Regions from separate parts of the Homo sapiens genome. Here region 1 is linked to region 2. The links are contacts of gene promoters, found by promoter capture Hi-C in human tissues and cell types (Jung and others, 2019). All regions are on one chromosome and are shown on one strand. Each heading gives the region's core, a stretch centred on a gene start or on the middle of the fragment in contact. The rest is flanking DNA. Distances are from core to core; before and after follow the strand shown. Region 1 has its middle 4.0 kb from the start of GHR. Region 2 holds the start of FBXO4 (F-box protein 4).

Region 1 (3,000 bases), core at 445-2,944, 490 kb before region 2:
TCTGAACTCTGGTTCTTTCTCCTTAAACATACTCCAATCACAGTGGGTGACATTTCCATCTCAGTAGATGGCAACTACTTCCTGCCAGTTACCCAGGCCACAAACCTTTGAAATCATCCTTACTTCTTCTCTGCCAATCACATTCCACATTCAAAACTCTGTCTATTTTCTTGGAGAGGTCCAGAGACACCTGGTCTGAACCACCAGAATTTCTCAGATTACTGCAGTAGTCTCTCAACTCAACTGGTCTGCTTGCTTTGACAAACCCCACCCCTAATCCCCAACCAACACCAACAACAACCCAAAGTATAAATTCAGTTGCCATAGTCATTCCTTTTAAAATTAATATCATGTCATTCCTCAGCTCAAAACCCTCCAATGGTTCCCCATTCAAATCAGAATAAAATTCAAAATGGCCCATGAGACCCTACGTGAGCTATGTACCTTTGCCCCACACCTCATCTCCCATGAATTTCCCCATCACTGGGTCATCCATTCTGCTCCCAGCACACCGGCCTCCCTGCTGTTTCTTAAGCAGGCCAGGCAGACTCCTAACTTGAAGGCTTTTTGCTGGCTTTTCTCTCTGATTTAAACACACTTCCACAAATATTCATTTGCTTCCTCCTACAGTTCCTTGAAGTCTTTACTCAGATATTGGCTAACTTATCTTGTCCAACCTATTTTACCTTATTATGGCCTTACCTTATTATGGCCCACCCTTCCCCAGTCTTTTATACATCCCCAGTAGGGCTTAGCAAAAAATATAAACTGCCTTGAAGACAATAGAAACAATTAGAAAATAATTCTGATTATATATATTCAAGTGCAGATATCTAGGTCAGATCGCCATCTCCCCAAACCATAAAACACCACAGTATAAACTTCCTAAATCTACAGTTATCTGAGGTTAGAGCATGGCTTTAGTCACTCTGTTGTACTATAAAATGCCAAAGCTTCTTCTCAAAACAAAACAAAAGAGGCCAAAACACTTAAAGTAGCATTTTATAGCTGTTTTGTTTTATAGCATTTGTAGTTGAAGAACATAGGATTGTTAGTCAGGAGCCTTGGGATCCTGTGTGGGTCCTCTGTGATTTTGGGTAAATTAGTTACTAATCTCACAATGACTCCATTTCTTGGCCTATAGAAGGAAGGGGTTGCTCTCTGAGATCATTCAGCTGTAAAATAAAGTATTAGATTGATATTTGTAAATCAAATTATGATATCAAACATTTGTGATAAATTCTAAATTTATTTGAATAATATTTGACCAAATGTCCGGGTACCATGCCCTAGCAAAGTTGACACATTGAGATGGTTAATTTTATGTGTCAATTTTGCTAGACCATGGTACCCAGATATTTGGTCAAATATTATTTTAGATTTTTTTGGCAAAGGCATTTTTATGGTAAGATTAACATTTAAATCAATAGACTTTGAGTAAATCATATTGCTCTACATAATGTAGGTGGGCCTCAATCGATCAGTTGAAGGCATTAAGAGAAAAAAACTGACCTATCCCAAAGAAGAGAAAATTCTGTCAGCAGGCAGCCTTTGGATTCAAACTGCATATCAACTATTCCCTAAATCTGTAACCAATTTACCCTGTAGATTTTTGACTTTTCAGTTTTCACAATTATGTGAGCAAATTTCTCAAAATAAGTCTCTGTATATATATCTCATGAATATGACATATATATATATATATATATCTCATGAATATGACATATATATATATATATATCTCCCTGATTAATACAATATTTACTGGTAAAATTAATAAGATTCTAATAAAATATTATCCCTTTAATGAATTTTTTTTAAACTAACACTGAATTCCCATTCACCATGTTCTTTCATTCATACAAATGTTGGTGAGCCTACACTATGACAGACTTCGTTCTAAAAACTTAGCATGCATCAGGGAACAAAATTTATACCACATATCTACAAAGATGCTGCCCTCATGGGGCTTGCATTCTAGTTAGGAGAGACAATGAACAATAAACATAATAAGTAAATCACTGAAGTGCTGATTAAAGAAAACCATAGCAGGGTAAGAGGCTCAAGAATGTCAGGTAGCAGGTACAAGAGTGCTGAGAATTCCTTCCTTGCCCAGGACTCAGCATATCATGGAATTGAGCATGTGATGCTTGTGAGCACACTGTGAGAGCTCTTTGACTAGGGTACTCTCTTTATCTTAGTCCCCTAGTTCCATCCCACAACTGCCTTGGGTGAGGATGGCAAGGGAATCATGAAGAGAAAAAAATGACTTAGGGAAGTATTTATTGCTTTCCCCCTATATTGGAAGGTAACAGGGAAAATGTTATTTCATGATCTGGGTATTCTTAGCCAAAATTTATGAGGAGGTCCCAGAGCCAGGTGAAAGCTTAAAATTGCCATTTATTGGAAAACAACCTAAGATGGCCAAATAGGAACAGCTCTCATCAGCAGCTCCCAGCGTGACTGATGCAGAAGACGGGTGATTTCTGCATTTCCAACTGAGGTACCTGGTTCATCTCATTGGGACTGGTTGGACAGTGGGTGCAGCCCAGAGAGAATAAGCTGAAGCAGGGTGGGGCGTCGCTTCACCCGGGAAGAGCAAGGGGTTGGGGAATTTCCCTTTCTTAGCCAAGGGAAGCAGTGACAGTCTGTACCTGGAGGAATGGTACACTTCTGCCCAAATACTTCACTTTTCCCTCAGTTTTCACAACCAGCAGACGAGGAAGTTCCTTCCTGTGCCTGGCTCAGCAGGTCCCACACCCACAGAGCCTTGCTCACTGCTAGTGCAGCAGTCCAACATCAAACTACGAGGTGGTAGCCTGGCTGGAGGAGAGACGTCAGCCATTGCTGAGGCTTGAGTAGGTAAAGAAAGTGGCTGGGAAGCTTGAACTGGGTGGAGCCCACCGCAGCTCAACGAGGCCTGCTTGCCTCTGTAGACTCCAACTCTGGGGGCAGGGCATAGCTGAACAAAAGGCAGCAGAAACTTCTGCAGACTTAAAT
Region 2 (3,015 bases), core at 66-2,565:
GTACATTTGTCTTTTTCTTTTTTGAGACACAGTCTCGCTCTGTCGCCCAGGCTGGAGTGCAGTGGCAAGATCTCGGCTCACTGCAAGCTCCGTCTCCCAGGTTCACGCCATGCTCCTGCCTCAGCCTCCCAAGTAGCTGGGACTACAGGCGCCTGCCACCAAGCCCGGCTAATTTTTTATATTTTTAGTAGAGACGGGGTTTCACCGTGTTAGCCAGGATGGTCTTGATCTCCTGACCTCGTGATCCGCCCACCTGGGTCTCCCAAAGTGCTGGGATTACAGGCGTGAGCCACCGCGCCCGGCCGTAAATTTGTCATCTTAGTTCCTCTACAGAATCTATTAAAATGTTATGAAAAACCTCTGCAAGGAGAAACTTGGAGGCATTCTAAACCTGCAGCTTTCACGTTGATATACACATTGGAGAGAGGTGTCAATAGTCCAAATGAGACAAAGAATTGTAATAATTTTCAATAATTTTTGTTCTCTTCATTTACCTATCTACCCCAAAGTTTAACAATAAGTTATGTGTGTCATTCTCGTGGCCTTGATGTAACTTGAGGCACTTGTAACTTAAGTCATTTATTTTCAACTGAGGGGCCGTTTTGTTTCTTCAAATACACAATAACAGCCACAGGCACAATGTCCTCTTGAGAGGGTAAAAACCTTGGCCCTCCAAGTGTTTTGGTACAGTGATCCGGAATCAAAGACGCTGGGAACAGGGACGCTGGAATGCTTTCCCAAGCTAATCAGCAAGTTGGGAACTGTCTCATTTCCGTAACCGGACATTCAGGGTGTCCTAGTCACATGTGCCTGTTTTGGCGGGTGGAAAACCTGAGGGCGATCGGGAGGGTCCCCAGGGGCCCCATGAAGGTGCTTCCCTGAGATGTTCGGGCCCCCTGCGGAGCACCAGGGTCCACGCCAAGACGCTTCTGATCAACTGTAGCTTCTCGGTGACTACACTGCCAGGAATGGCTGCATGGACGGAGCCAGACCCAGGCCGGGGCGCGAGAGTTCCCCAGGCCCCGGGGGGCTCCAGGGGAGGTCCCTCCGGCCCGGGCCGGCCCCACTGTCCTCCGCGGCCTGCGGCCGACGCTCACCGGCAGCCGCGTCAGGGTGCTGGCCGCCTCATCCACCTCCTCCCGTGAGGTCGTACGCGCCACCCTCTCCTTGCTCACTGACTGCCAGAAGGTCTTCCAGCCGCTGAGGATGGCCGCCTCCAGGCGGCCCCAGTCGCTGAAGGGCGGCGGCGGCGAGTTTGTTCCGCTGCGCGGCTCGCTTCCCGCCATGGCTTGCCCGCAGCGTGGGTGACGCGTCTTAGAGCCACGCTAGCGCGTCAGCCTCCTGCGCAGCTCCGCGCCAGCCGAGGGCGCCCTCGGGCGTTCCGCCTCCCGCTTCTCCCGCGAGTCCGCCTCCAGGGCAGGGTTAGGCCCAGGGGCAAGGGCGGGTACTGGGAGGAAGCCCACTGTGCGTGGCTGTGAGCCGAGTACGAAGCTCCTGTCAACAATTAACTTCCCCAGTAACTTGTGGCCTCAACCTCAGCCACGCCAACCGCAGAGCCCCTGTACAACCTCTGGCCCGCTGACTTCCTGGCTTCATTCAAGATGTTCTCTCCGGGATCATTTCCACTATGCCTGGTCCTAGGCGACTCCGCTTGTTCGATAGACCTCTGCCACTGTCTTGGGCTTAATAACCACTTGCTTCCTTTTCAGCACTACCATACTACGTATGGGGTGTTTTTTGTGTGTGTTATTTCCTCAATCACCAAGTTACCATTTATTTTCTTGAGTATCAGCAAAAACAGACTAGAGAGGCAGTCAGCGGGCCAATTACAAAGAACCTTTTGCCAAAATGAGAAGTCTGGACCCACTATGCAAAAATATAAGCACATTTAAAATTTGCAAGGGCGGCAAAAAACGGCTAGAAGAACCCAGATGTGGTGGTGTTGAAATCCCACTAGTGAGTTTTTTAATTCTCAAACCAGATGCCCATTCTACTTACTTTGGGCTTACTTTAAAAGTGCTTTAAGAGAACGTATTACAAGTTAATCTGTTACATAGAACTGGGTATGTATACATTCAAAAAGTAAATCTCTGAGGATCTAAATGTCAACAGAATCCAAGAAAGCCTGATAACTAAGGTTCTGCAAGGCTCTGTAACATACAAGTTTAAGTTTCATTACATTTTATTATTTGCATGTTGTTGGTAGGGGCCAATAACCAATAAAATTGCAGCCTCGTTTTTGGGAGGCAATCTGGACAAGGACCACGGATTAACCATATGGCATTTCTCATCACTTTCTAGGACACGATTTACTTTGAGAGCAAAAAACGAACTAGAGCAAGAAAAAAAATCAGTTCAAGTATAAAGTATTAAAATGATATCTGTTAAATGAATGAGAAAAACTTTATTACGGAAAATTTTGAACATTTATAAAAGGAGAGTGAATAATATGCTCCTGTGTGCCCAGTATCCAAGATTCCATTACCAACACCTGGTTAATCTTGTGCTGTTGCTATACTCACCTAATACTACACCCCCAATTCTGGATCCTTTTGAAACAAATCCCAGACCTATCATCTGTAAATATCTCAGTATCCGTCCCTAAAAAAAACAGATTTTAAGAAACAGACCACTGTACCTAAGCAATTTTAATTCATTAAAATCACCAAATACCGAGTCAGTGTTTAACTTCCCCATCTGCTTTGAAAATAATTTTTCACATTTGATTTGTTTGAATCATAGCCCAACAAGGGTCACACATTACGGATACTCTTAAAGCTTAAGTTTCATTGTATAGCTCCCCCTCCTTTATTTTCCCTTGATATTTGTTAAAGAAAGCAGGTTGGTCTTTCTGGACCACTCTGGACTTTCTTTTTTCTATATTCTTCTTCTTCTTTTTTTTTTTTTTTTGTTAGTAGAGATGGAGTTTCACCATGTTTTCCAGGCTGGTCTCGACCTCCCAGGCTCAAGTGATCCTCCTGCTGTGGCCTTCCAAAGTGCTAGGATTACAAGTGT

Evidence for each region. The method cuts DNA at HindIII sites, captures the fragments that hold promoters and counts their contacts. A contact is called where the count stands out against the background at its distance.
Region 1: a fragment that was not itself captured here is called in contact with the fragment with the promoter of FBXO4 in region 2 in 1 of the 25 tissues and cell types used here (heart left ventricle).

What each region holds. Positions count from the first base shown.
Region 1 is chr5:42,417,971-42,420,970 of GRCh38, reverse strand. No RefSeq gene overlaps it. Among named protein-coding and RNA genes, the nearest start is that of GHR, 4.0 kb to the left of the region's middle. The HindIII fragment of the contact is 4,187 bases long and covers 1-3,000 here.
Region 2 is chr5:41,923,581-41,926,595 of GRCh38, reverse strand. FBXO4 (F-box protein 4) reads right to left here and starts at 1,315. Exons shown (of 7, transcript NM_012176.3): 1 at 1,098-1,315. The coding sequence starts at 1,286. RefSeq lists a silencer at 878-1,057. The HindIII fragment of the contact is 11,897 bases long and covers 1-3,015 here.